Linked DNA regions of Homo sapiens: regions 2 and 3 are each linked to region 1. Evidence: promoter capture Hi-C in 16 types of primary human blood cells and fetal thymus (Javierre and others, 2016). All regions are on one chromosome and are shown on one strand. The core of a region is centred on a gene start or on the middle of the fragment in contact, and the rest is flanking DNA. Distances in the headings are between cores, read along the strand shown. Region 1 holds the start of AEBP1 (AE binding protein 1). Region 2 overlaps LOC102723334 (a long non-coding RNA gene). Region 3 overlaps H2AZ2 (H2A.Z variant histone 2).

Evidence for each region. Contacts are between HindIII fragments. The CHiCAGO score rates a contact against its expected background, and 5 or more counts as called.
Region 2: a contact is called between a fragment that was not itself captured here and the fragment with the promoter of AEBP1 in region 1, in 1 of 17 cell types (fetal thymus). The highest score is 7.6, in fetal thymus.
Region 3: a fragment that was not itself captured here is called in contact with the fragment with the promoter of AEBP1 in region 1 in 1 of 17 cell types (fetal thymus); the score reaches 6.7 in fetal thymus.

Annotation. Positions count from the first base shown.
Region 1 is chr7:44,101,828-44,106,227 of GRCh38, reverse strand. AEBP1 (AE binding protein 1) reads right to left here and starts at 1,883. Exons shown (of 21, transcript NM_001129.5): 1 at 1,310-1,883. The coding sequence starts at 1,562. The HindIII fragment of the contact is 6,426 bases long and covers 150-4,400 here.
Region 2 is chr7:44,995,002-44,999,401 of GRCh38, reverse strand. LOC102723334 (a long non-coding RNA gene) reads left to right here. Exons shown (of 4, transcript XR_428139.4): 2 at 29-122; 3 at 4,258-4,373. Among named protein-coding and RNA genes, the nearest start is that of CCM2, 3.0 kb to the left of the region's middle. RefSeq lists enhancers at 4,123-4,172, 4,193-4,252, 4,293-4,342. The HindIII fragment of the contact is 2,431 bases long and covers 1,332-3,762 here.
Region 3 is chr7:44,841,451-44,845,850 of GRCh38, reverse strand. H2AZ2 (H2A.Z variant histone 2) reads left to right here. Exons shown (of 5, transcript NM_012412.5): 2 at 2,497-2,574. Among named protein-coding and RNA genes, the nearest start is that of H2AZ2, 4.4 kb to the left of the region's middle. The HindIII fragment of the contact is 2,973 bases long and covers 784-3,756 here.

The sequences.
Region 1 (4,400 bases), core at 634-3,133:
ACTATTCTGTTCTGGGCACAGAAGGGGCAGAGAGGTGACTGAGCCATCCAGGCCTGGAGGAGCATCTGGTCATCCCTGCCAACTGCCATACAAAGGAAGGGACATGGGCCCAAGACCTTCCCCTGGTCTCCTACGGGGCAAGAAAAGCTTCAAAGAAAAGGGACACTTGGTTGAGTATTGAAGCCCAAAGAAGAGGAAGTGGTCTCCTTTCGAGAAGTAAGGGGTTTGGAATTGATTGGAAGGATAGGGAGTCCTGGGGGGTTCAGGGATCACACAGAGGACAGAAAAGACAGGTAGGGAGCTTGTGGCTGCACACTCATTTCAGAGTCTGGGAGAGGGAGCAGGGACTGGTTGTGAGGATTCCCCATGGGAATCCTCCCAGGACCCTAAGCAGGAGCTGCAAGTGCTGTTGAGAACCTGATGAGAGGTGGGGAGCATGAGGGAAGTTTGGCAGAAACACAGGAAAGCTACCAAATGCAGACAGCCAGGGGACGCAGGGCTGCTAGAGCGGTGCCCCAGAGCCAGGAGAGCAAGCCTGGAAGGAGAGCCAGAGGCAGGAGGGGCACAGGCAGCCCAGGGTGTGGGAAGCAGCCAGGAAAGATCTAGAGCTGGGGTGGCAGGGGAGGGGCTGCTGACATCAGGAATGTTGGATGGTGCCTTGGAATCTCCTGGGAGACAGGGATCACAAGACCCTCTGCCACCTTCCAGAGGGCCACGATGAAAACAGCTAAGATTTACTGACAACTGATTATGCAAGAGGCCGTGGGTTAAATGCTTCAGTGATGCATCACCTCATCTAATTTCCTGTACTAATGTAGGACCACCCATTGCTCACCACCACCTGAAGCCCTGTGCTCACCACCACCTGAAACTCTCTCACCTACGTGAGACCTCCTGGAGTAGGAGGGCAAAGGCAGGAGGGAGGGACGACGTGAAGCTGTGCCACCAACAGGGAGAGTGGTCCCATTAGTATGGCAGGGGGTGACACAGCACAGTCCCCTGTGGCTCAAGCCTAGTACCTGTCGCGTACTGGAGGAATGGGGATAAGCGACCCGTACAACCACAGCACCAACCCTAGAGCCACCGGCCCCCAAAAGCGGCCCTGCCGCCCGGGTGCTGGATGTGCCTCCACGCCAGCGCTGACCTCGGCCTAGCACAGGGTCCCTCCAGGCATCTGGGCTCGCGTGCGCATTAGTAAGCCAGCCATTCCTCCCCTAGCAGACTGGGGAGTGGCCAGACCCTACCGAATCCCCCTGTTCCCACCTGAGATGCCAGCCCCCCACACCCCCGCCCTGCCCTGGGCTCTTACCTTCTGCGGCCGTCCCTGGCCGCTTCCCTGGCTTGCCCCCCGCCTGGGCTTTTCGGACCCGCGGGGTGGGCTCGGGAGGCGGCGGGGCCTCCACGTCGTCCTCCCGGGGCTCAGGTTCTAGCTCTGACAGGAAGCCCTCGAGGAACTCCTCGATCTCGTCGTCGGTCAGCACCGTCTGCGGGCGCCCTCCAGGGCACAGGGCCAGCAACGCCAGGAGGCAGCTGAGCAGGGGCGCCCCGCGCACGGCCGCCATGGCCGCGGCACGCGCGGGGGGCTCCGGGGAGGGCGCGGGGGGTCAGGGGCTCTGGGTCTCTGGGAAAGGGCGGAGAGGGGATCGAGACGGGTGAGGGAATCCAGGAAGGGGCGGGAGAGAGGATGGGGTGAGCGAGGGAATCCGGGAAAGGGAGGGAGAGTGGATTAGGGTGGGCGAGGGGACCCGGGAAGGGGTGCTGGGGGGCTCCGAAGCCAGAGGGGCTCAGGGGTGGTCGGGGCGCTCCGAGGTCCTGGCGGCTAATAGGCGCTCCGGCCCCGCGTGGCGCACTCCCGCGCGGATAGCCGTCTCCAAAGCGCTGGCGGGGCCCGGGGCGGGGGCGCCGGGGCTTCCGGAGCCGGCTCCCCACCCCCGGGGAGGAGGAGGAGGAAGAGAAGGAGGAGCCGAGAGTGGACGGAGGGGCTGCGGGGGGGCGGGGGGCGGGGGGCGGGGGGCTAGGGGCGGGGCAGGCGGGCGGGCGCTGGCGGCGAGCGTCCCAAGCCCGGAGACTTGCGCCTAGGACAGAGGGGCAGGGGGCGGGGCGACTGGGAAGACAGAGGGCCTGAGGGAAGGAAAGGTGGTGGGGAGGGCCTGGGGTGCGGGTCTGAGGGGGCCGACATCCCTCCTCCTTCTGCCCTAGGCACCCCCCTTAAGGCGGGACCCCGAGTCCACCGGGGCTCTGAGCCCTCCGCGGGTGACCAGGAACCCTGGACGGAAAGCCGTGGTGTCAGGCCTCTGAGACCTCTCTCAATTCGGAGGGCCACAGAAAGGCCACCCCATCCTTCCCAGGCTCTGGAGCCTCTGCCCATGGGCCCTGCTGCATCCCAGCGTCAATTCATTCAGTCATCCTACCAACCTCTTCAGGTCGGTGTGGGGCCGGGCCCCGTGCTGGGCCCCAGGGAGGGACAGCACAGTGGGAACTCACTTTCCAGCCAGGAGGCAGGTGCAAAACTGCCCTCAGAGTGGCCAGCTGCCCCGCTGGGGGTAGGAGTCCCATGTAAGGGCATGCCATCCCTCCCCTCCGGGTCCCAACGTGGACAAATAGCCATTTATCACCTTCTTCTTACCAGAACTCATTTTTTAAAAAGTGTCTACCATACCTCCAGCTGCCACATGGACCCAGAGGGCCCAGAGGACCCAGAAGGCAGGTGGATTGAGTGTCAACTGATCCCAGGATCCATCAGGGATGTGCACCTTGGTGCCTGGTGTTTGCCATAAGGCTTCTCCAGGGCAAATGTTGGCTGCCCTACAACGGCCATCAACAGGCAGAGTGGTCCCATTAGTATGGCAGGGCGTGACACAGCACAGTCCCCCGTGACTCAAGCCTAGTCCCTGTCTCATACTGGAGGAATGGGGAGCTAAGGACAGAGCTCCGAGGACATTCCCCCTTAAAGGAATGAGGACACAAGAGAAAGCTCACAGGTAGTCCATGGGCCAAGTGCAGAGGCAGACAGCCCTAAGCCACGATTGTCTGCGGGGTTTGGCCCCAGTGAAGTAGTCAGGTAGGGAAGCCTAGGAGCCCCTGGGATGATTGACAGGGCAGAGTTTGGACCTGGGGTCAAAAGGAAAGAGGAAAAGTGGGTCAGGAAGCACCTGGGTCCCCAGAGCAGCCCCGAGTGAGTTGGAGCAGGCAGCAGCCGGGGAGGCCACAGTGGAGGCTGCTGGGCCTGGGATACATGCCACCCCCTGGGAGCAGGACCACAAGGAGGCCTTGCCTCCTCTCACACCTGGTCCTGCCAAGACCCTGCCTTTGCTTTCTCACTGCATCTCCTTGAAAAAGCAGTGGGACTGTGTCAGGTTCTGGCTCTACCTCCCAGGCACCACATCTCGGCAGGTAGCCTCAGTGCCGTCCACCTGTGTCCCTGTTCTCCTTGTCGTTCATACAGGATCATGCATGTGCTGTGCCTAGCACACATTCTTGGCACTCACACTGCTGCCTTTTAGCTCTCATCATTTGCCCTCAGAGATCAACCTGAGCTGTGCCCACTGGGGCGCTCAGAGCAGACCCTGAGCCCCAACACCCAGGCTCCCTGTGCACCTGAGCCTGCCTCTGCCTGCCACGTGCCCCCAGGCCAGTCCTGGTGGCAGCAAGGATCCGCAAGCTCTCCCCTTTCCTCATCCTCTGCAAAGCTCTGAATCATCTTTCTCAAAACTTGTTCTGGGAATTTGCTCCGTTGCCCCAGTTGAGCATGTCAAGCCCGGCGGCCCAAGGCTGGGGTGAAGCAGCGTGGCACGTCACTTCCCTGGGAACAACTCACACATGGATTGGATTTGGGTCCAACATCCTCTGCCAGGGAAAATAGAAGCCATAAGAAAACAAAAAAGGAACAGAAGGAGGCTTTTCTTCAGTCACAGCGAGTCACCAACAAAAACATGTGCAAAAGCTCTCATGGAGAGCTGGGCCACAAGGAGGGCCATGATGTTGGGGGCCCTCTGACACCAAGGGTGTGGGCAGGTGGATGGGAGGCAGCTGCCCTCCATGCCAGGCTGATGTGCCTCCCTTTGGGTGGTGGGGCTGGGACTCCCACTCCACTTGAAGACCTGCACCAAAAAGTCCTTTAGCCCTGTGCCCAGGCTCTGCCACGGGGCCGGTGAGGGGACTTCTCCCCTCTGCTGCCAGAGTGAAGCCAGTCAGGGGGATGGGAGGCTTGTAGCCAAGAGCACCTAGTGGCTTTCAGGGTCCCTTACCCCTGCCACTTAGCAGGGTCTGCACCTGCATCCAAGTGTTCTCCTGGGCTACAGTGGGGGGCTGGTAGACACTCTGGTGATCCACTTTCAGCTTCCCACATGGATGTGGCAGGGACTGCTTTGGCATTTCCCTACCCCAAGGGACAGCCACTG
Region 2 (4,400 bases), core at 1,298-3,797, 890 kb before region 1:
CATCCGGTATAATTTCCACATTTTCCAGATGAGGTCCGGGGAATGAGGTGATTCGCCCAAAAGCACACTACAAATTGGAGTCACCAGCAGGTCTGCTATTTTGCCACTAAACCAATCTGCCGGTAAGAACTTTGTAGCACAGCTAGAATGTAAACTGTGTTTTTTTGGTGGTTTTTTTTTTTTTTTGAGACGGAGCCTTGCTCTGTCGCCCAGGCTGGAGTGCCAGTGGCGTGGATCTCGGCTCACTGCAAGCTCTGCCTCGCGGGTTCACGCCGTTCTCCTGCCTCAGCCTCCCGAGTAGCTGGGACTACAGGCGCCAGCCACCACACCTGGCTAATTTTTGTATTTTTAGTAGAGACGGGGTTTCACCATGGTCTGGATCTCCTGACCTGGTGATCCGCCCACCTCGGCCTCCCAAAGTGCTGGGATTACAGGCGTGAGCCACCGCGCCCGGCCTAATAATTCTTTATATTAAACTTTTCTTTACTGTGTTTCTGTCTCCTGACTGGGCCTATGTTATACTGATATTCAAAAGAAATACTTGGTCTCTAGACCTCTCCAAAGGCATAAGTATTCCATTCTCTGCAAGATAAAGCAGAGATAGTGGAAACACCCTTTCAATCTGCCTTCTGCAATAATCCAGCTTGCCACATTTACACACGCAAATGATGTAGCGCATCTGGTTGTCATTATTTTCCCACCATTCACAGAACAAAGGCCTGATATTTAAAGTCTTCCACCGTCTTCCACAAATGCATATTTATCACTCCATAATACAGTAAACAACACTACTAAAACTTCTCTTAGCCTAACTCTGGATGTGCTGACTTCCTCAGGCTGTTCTTATCCATCAGAATACCTTTGCCCTGTCTTTGCATACACAGGTTCATGCTTCAAGCAAAAGTCCACTGGCTAATGATCAGATGGTGATAACTGGGAATAAAGACAATAAAATGAGAAAAGCAAAAAGGCTGTTAGCTTGCTATAACAAGGGAGTCAGCCACCATCATTTGTATTTGGATGAGACTCAATGTCAGGCAGAGGAGTGGGTAAGCTTTATAGTGAAAAAAGGGAAGCCTCCAGGGATGTCCTCATTTGAGGCTGTTGGCCTGGGGAAGCAAGGGGCAGGGCATCCCAAGTGATTGGTTAGGGGCACATATTTGTCTTTCTCTGGTTGCTCCTAAGCTGGAAGCAGGACCGAAAACTAGGAAAGCTGCCAGTTTTTTTTTAATTGACAAATAATTTTTTGTTTCTTTTGTATTTTTAGAGATAAAGTCTCACTCTGTCCTTCAGGTTAGAGTGCAGTGATGCAGTCATGGCTCACTGAAGCTTCAACCTCCTGGGCTCAAGCAATCCTCCCATCTCAGCCTCCCAAGTAGCTGGGACTACAAGGACGCATCACCAAGCCTGGCTAATTTTAGTATATTTTTGTTGAGACAAGGTCACACTATGTTGCCCAGGCTGGTCTCAAACTCCTAGGCTCAAGCAATCCTCCCTCCTCAGCCTCCCAAAGTGCTGGGATTATAGGCATGAGCCATCGCACCCAGCTAACACATAATAATTGTACATATTTATGAGGTACATGTGATTTGTGTGTGTGTGTGAGGCAGAGTCTCACTCTGTCACCCAGGCTGGAGTGCAGTGGCATGATTTCAGCTCACTGCAACCTCTGCCTCCCAGGTTCAAGCAATTCTCCTGCCTCAGCTTCCCAAGTAGCTGGGATTACAGGCATGCACCACCACACCAGGCTAATTTTTTTTTTTTTTTTTTTTTTGAGACAGAGTCTTACTCTGTATTGCCCAGGCTGTAGTGCAGTGGTGCAATCTCAGCTCACTGCAACATCCACCCCCCAGTTTCAAGCGATTCTCCTGCCTCCGGAGTAGCTGGAATTACAGGTGCCCACTACCACGCCCGGCTAATTTCTGTATTTTTAGTAGAGACAGGGTTTCACCATGTTGCCCAGGCTGGTCTCGAACTCCTGGCCTCATGTGATCTGTCCACCTTAGCCTCCCAAAGTGCTGAGATTACAGGCATGAGCCACTGCACCCGGCCAAAATACATGTGATATTTTGATACATGCATATGATGTGTAATAATAAAATCAGGGTATTTAGGATATTCGTCACCTGAACACTTATTTCTTTGTGTTGGAGACATTTCAGATCTCTCCTAGCTATTCTGAAATATACAGTACATTGTTATTAACTATAGTCATCTTACTCTGCTATGGAACATTAGAATTTAGGCTGGGTGTGGTGGCTCAAACCCGTAATCCGAGCACTTGGAGAGGCTAAGCTGGGAAGATCACGTGAACCCAGGAATTGGAGACCAGCCTGGGCAATATAGTGAGATCCTTCTTCTACAAAAAATACAAAAATTAGCTGGGCATAGTGGTGTGCACCTGTGGTCCCAGCTACTCAGGGGCCTGAAGTGGGGTCCTTGAGCCCAGGAGGTCGAGGCTGCAGTGAGCTGTCATTGCACCACTGCACTCCAGCCTGGGCAACAAGCCAGATCTGTCTCACACACACACACACACACACACACACACACACACCCATGAGAAATTATTGCTTCTATTTAGCTGTATGTTTGTACACGCTAACCAACCTCTCTTCAGCCCCCTACTTTCCCCCAACACACACCCTTCCCAGCCTCTGGTGGCTATCATCCCAGTCTCTATCTCAATGAGATGAATATTTGTTTAGCTCCCACATATGAGTGAGTAAATGCAATACTTGTCTTTGTTTTTTTGTTTAAAAAAAAATTTACAGGGATGAGGTCACTATGTTGCCCAGGCTGGTCTCCAACTCCTAGGTTCAAGCCATCCTCCCACTTCAGCCTCCCAAGTATTGGGATTACAGGCTTACATAGTGACCTCTAGCTCTATTTATGTTGCTGCAAATGACATTTTCATTTTTTTTTCCTATGGCCAAATAGTATTCTATTGTGTATATATACTAATTTTTTTTGACATGAGGTCTCACTCTGTCACCCAGGCTGGAGTGCAGTGGTATGATCACTGCTCACTACAGCCTTGATCTCATAGACTCAAGAGATCCTCCCACCTCAGCCTCCCCAGTAGCTGGAACCACAGGTGTCTGCTATCACACCTGGCTAATTTTTTTACTTTTTGTAGAGATGAGGTCTCTATGTTGCCCAGGCTGCTCTCAAATTCCTGGGCTCAAGCAATCCTCGCGCCTCAGCCTCCCAAAGTGCTGGGATTATAGGCTTGAGTCACCACGCTCAACCTTATTTTTTGTCTTTTTTTTTTTTTTAGAGACAGGGCTTCCCTCTGTTACCCAGGCTGGAGTGCAGTGGCATGATCTTAGCTCACCGCAGCTTGAGCTAAGGAGCTGGGCTCCTGGGCTCAATGGATCCTCCCACCTCAGCCTCCTAAGTAGCTGGGACTGCAGGTGCGCCAACACCCTTATTTTTTGCCTTTTTGATAATAACCATTCTAAATGGGGTGAAATGGTATCTCATTGTGGTTTTGATTTGCATTTCCCTGATGACTCATGATATTGAGTATTTTTTTATATGTACCTATTTGTTTTTTGTACATCTTCTTTTGAGAAATGTCTACTCAGATTCTTCGCCCACTTTTTAATGGATTATTTGTGGTTTTTTGCTGTCAAGTTGTTTGAGTTCCTTGTATATTCTGGATATTAGTCCCTTGCCGCATGAATAGTTTGCAAATATTTTCTCCCATTCTAAAGGTTGTCTTTTCACTCAGTTGATTGTTTCCATTGCTGTGCAGAAGCTTTTTAGTTTCGCTTAATATAGTCCCATTTGTCTATTTTTGGTTTTGTTGCCTATGCTTTTGAAATTTTAGCCATAAAATCTTTGCCTCGTTCAATGTCTTGAAGCATTTCCCCTATGTTTTCTTCTAGTAGTTTTGTAGTTTCAGGTCTTATGTTTAAGTCTTTAATCCATTTTGAGTTGATTTTTGTATCTGGTGAGAGATAGGGTGCCAGTTATTAATTAAGTCCTAGGCTTTGGGGGCTGTTAGAAAAGTTACTCCTGGATTGTCACTAGAGATAACACCTGGCTTCCTGCAAGTATGACTTACAGCAGGCTTGTTTCCTGGGCTGGTTGCTGTAGATAACGAATTGGTTTCCTGAGGAGGTTTCTGCAGGTTGTCAGTCAGAGTTCTAGTTGTACAAATGGTCCAGCCATTGTCTATTTGTATATTCAGTCTCTCGTAACAGACACCAATGAGACAATTATAACATAAAACAATCTTTTCTTTCTCTCCAGGTCACACCTTGGCTGTAAAGTGTCCTAACAGCCACCTACTTATGATTACTGCTTTCTTACCAATAACCTCCCCAGCCTGTTGTGTGGCTCCTACATCTTGAACAAAAGCGACCAAGGTACCCAATTACTAAACTGCCCACACT
Region 3 (4,400 bases), core at 1,021-3,520, 740 kb before region 1:
TATAGTTTTATATTCAGATAAGTTTGATACCATAAAAGTTTTCTTTTGTTAAGTATGAGAAATGTATCAGGAATCTCTAAATGTTGGAAATAGTCATTTAATGGATTGAGGCTTTTAAAACCTGACTGTATGTCTACTTCCTTAAAAAGCAAATAGAACACCAAATATGACATATCTGAAACAGTGAGGATAAAATTGCTTAAGCAGAGTAGTTATTATATGACCTGGGGAGCCTGGGGAATTTTGTAGTTGTTGGCTTTTTATTAGTGACTACTTCTTATTTTTTCCAATCCAGTCATAGGAAGACAGTGATTATAATTTTAGATGCCAGTTGAGAGGTTTTTAAGTGTTATATATTAGGGCAAATGGAGGTAACAAGGGTTTTTTATTTGAGAAGTAAGTAAGACTGTCTTGTTAGTGGAGCTGACCTCAAAAATCCAAAAATTGTATTTTTCTTATATAACAACATAGTCAAAAATTATTAAAATATGAGGCATTCTGGTAGAAATAGAGAGCGTCTCAGTTCTTACTGGTAAACTTAAATCAGTCTCTTGTTGAATTACCTAATATAAGAGAGTGAATATGAATTAGTTCTTAGATTTTTATTTTTCCTGTTTCTGATACCTGCCAGGGTTTTACTGTTTTTCTTCCATATTATCTTGGGTGACACGCACTTAATCCACTTAGACGTGCAATTAGAGGAAGTATACAGGGGTAATTTTTAGCTTTAAAAAATTTTTAAGGAAAGGGTTAGCTACAAAGGGGATATGCCATTTCAAAGCTTACCATCTATTTTGAAAGAATAGCCCCTCAAACAGCCAATCTTGTAAACTGATTTCTTTTTTTAACAGTAAAGAAATAATCTGTTTAAATGGTAAAAGCAAAATATATGAGAGAAAATTAGTTTTCTTAAGTCAGACCTTTAGTATTTCCTCCCGAGAGGCAAATAACATTTCTAATTTATTGTGTCACCTACTAGAAATACATGTGTACACATATACTCTATAATACCCCATATTTACTTAAAAGCTCATTACATTGGCACATACTTTGCCTTTTTCATGCAGAAATAGGTTTTTTTAAAGCGTACAGTTCAGTGGCATTAAGTACATTTATAGTGTGCAACCATCACTGCCTTCTGCCTCTAGAACTTTTTCATCTTCCCAAGTGGAAACTCTACCCATTCAACAATAACTCGGCCAGGCGCAGTGGCTCACGCCTGTAATCCCAGTACTTTGGGAGGATGAGACAGGCAGATCACTTGAGGTCAGGAGTTCAAGACCAGCCTGGCCAACATGCAGAAACCTTGTTGGTACTAAAAATACAAAAATTAGCAGGGCATGGTGGCGCGCACCTATACTACCAGCTACTTAGGAGGCTGAGGCAGGAGAATCACTTGAACCCAGGAGGCAGCTACCCCTGGCAACCACAAATCTGCTTTCTGACCATGAACTTTACTATTTTAGGGACCTCATAAGTAGAATCATACAGTATTTGTCTTTTTTGTAACTGGCTTATTTTCCTTAGCATAATGTCCTCAAGGCCCATTCATGTTGTAGCTTGTGTCAGAATTTCCTTTTTAAAGCTGAATACTATTCCATTATATGTATATCATTTTGTTCATCCATCATTGGACACTCAAGATTGTTTCTACCTTTTGGCTATTCTGAATAATGCTTCTGTGAACGTGGGTATACATGTATTTGTTTGAATCCTTGCTTTCAATTTTTAGGTGTATACCTAGAAGTGGAATTGCTAGACTATATGACAATTCTGTGTTTAATTTTTTGAGGTTTTTTTTTTTTTTCTTGGAACATGCTTTATTTTTCTGAGAGCTAAGTTCTAAATATTTCTGTGGAAGTAATATATGTTACATTGACATTGATAAAAATTGTGAAATATTTCATGTATGCATAAAAGTTATATTGACTTGCAAGATTCTTTAATCTGGAAATTGATAAATATGTTTGTTTTTAAAAATCTCATATTTTTCAGCCTGGCACTGTGGCTTATGCCTGTAATCCCAGCACTTTGGGAGGCCTAGGCGGGCGGATCACTTGAGGTCAGGAGTTCAAGACCAGCTTGGCCAACATAGTGAAACCCACCTCTACTAAAAATACAAAAATTAGCCATGTGTGGTGGTGTGCGCCTGTAATCTCAGCTACTCAGGAGGCTGAGGCAGGAGAATCGCTTGAGCCCAGGAGGTGGAGTTTGCAGTGAGTCAAGGTCGCACCACTGCACTCCAGCCTGGGCAACAGAGCTAGACTCCATCTCAAGAAAAAAGAAAAATATTTTAAATAAGTGTTTAAGGTTTGATTTCTTTGATAGAAATTATAAAAGGTGATAGAATCCCATGTATATTTACAAATGAGGAAGGGGATCACCTACATATTGTTAACTACCTAAAGTAAAACTAGAAAAAATTCTGTTTCCAGAATATTTTTGAAGTAGTATTTTCAACTCTTTTCATTCAAAAAAATTTTTTTTTGCATTTAGGCTGGAGGCAAAGCTGGAAAGGACAGTGGGAAGGCCAAGGCTAAGGCAGTATCTCGCTCACAGAGAGCTGGGCTACAGGTAATGAATCCATGCTGTCATTACATTATTATTTTCTTTACTGTTGTAATTTATGACCTATGTTTCATCAATTACAAAAATCTACTTGTATTACTACAGACTTTTTTTTTTTTTTTTTTTTTTTTTTTTTTTTTTTTTTGAGACAGAGTCTCACTCTGTCGTCAGGCTGGAGTGCAGTGGTGCAATCTCGGCTCACTGCAACCTCTGCCTCCTGGATTCAAGCGATTCTCCTGCCTCAGGCTCCCACATAGCTGGGACTGCAGGCGTGCGCCACCATACCCAGCTAGTTTTTGTATTTTTAGTAGAGACGGGATTTCACCATGTTGGCCAAGATGGTCTCAATCTCTTGACCTCGTGATCTGCCTGCCTCAGCCTCCCAGAGGGCTGGAATTACAGGCATGAGCCACCGCGCCTGGCTGAGAAACCCTTTTAATCAGGAAGGCTAAGCTGTAAACTGTTATCCTCTTGGCAGTGGTAAGCCATTGAGAGTTTGAGCCAGAGGACAACATTATCCAGATGATACCGAAAGAAGGGGGATGGGAACTTAAACTGATATGCACATTCTGTATTTTAGGTCTCCATGTATATTCCCAATTAGAATTTATTTTAAGGCATACTTAATTTGAAGTAGAAAATGGAAGGCCAATGGAGGTTTTTGCAGTGGTTTAGGAATAAAGTAACATACTTGAATGGGAAGGAGTAGAAAGCATGTGTGTGCAGAAAATAGGTGAAGCAGTATAAGGTTGAGAGAAAGTCACAGGTTTCTCTAAGGCTTAGAACCTAAGGAACAGAGGAGTTTGTAGTAGGGGCAAGTTATGAGTAAATTTAAATGGAATCATTTTGAAGTTCACTAAAACATCCATGTGAAAATGTCCAGAAGTTGGAAACATGAGTTCAGCTTTCTAATAGAGGTGATAGAATTAGGAATTTGAGATCATTTATGTAAAATGGATAGTTTATGTTATGGATGAGTTTCCTAACCTAAGAGAATGAGAAAGGAGCACAGGGACGTTGGTGGACCCCTGAAAAACTTTAAGAAAAGGCTGAGGAGTAGTCAGACTTGGTATGAGAACTCTGAAGTCTAAGATGAAATGTTTTTGAGGGCCTACTGTATGCCAGACAACATACTGGTTACTAAGGATACAAAGGAAAAGAAGACATAAATCTTGCCCTTAAGAAGCTTTTGGTCACTTAGAGATGAAGTATAAATGCAAAAAAAAGATTGCTTGTTTTTATTAAGGAAGTAAAATGTCACTGCTGGCCTTCAAAGGTCAAGTTAGGGTTAGGAAAAATGGGTGACAAGGAAGTAAGGGTTTCAGGATTTGTTTTTTCAATTCAGTCTTTGGAAAGAGACTGTCTAGACTGTAACTGGAAGCAGTTTTCATAGATTGTGAAGTTTTCAGTAAAGTCTGTAGAAGGAAAGGAACCAGCGGAAAGGAAGTAATTGTAGCTGTTGAAATAATGGAGCAGTGAAGGGTTGAGGGAGGCCTGTAAGAAAGGCACAGACTGGCGGGGCACAGTGGCTCATGCCTGTAATCCCAGCACTTTGGGAGGCTAAGGTGGACAGATCACTCAAAACCCTGTCTCTACTAAAAATACAAAACAGCCAGGCGTCCTGGCGCGCCTATAATCCCACCTACTCAGGAGGCTGAGGCAGGAGAATCGCCTGAACCCGGGAGGCGGAGGTTGCAGTGAGCCAAGATGGCGCCACTGCACTCCAGCCTGGGTGACAGAGTGAGACTCTGTCTCAATAAAAAAAATAATAAAGGGCACAGACAAGTGGGATCAGGATACTTTGAAATGAGAAAAATACCCTCTTTTTCAGA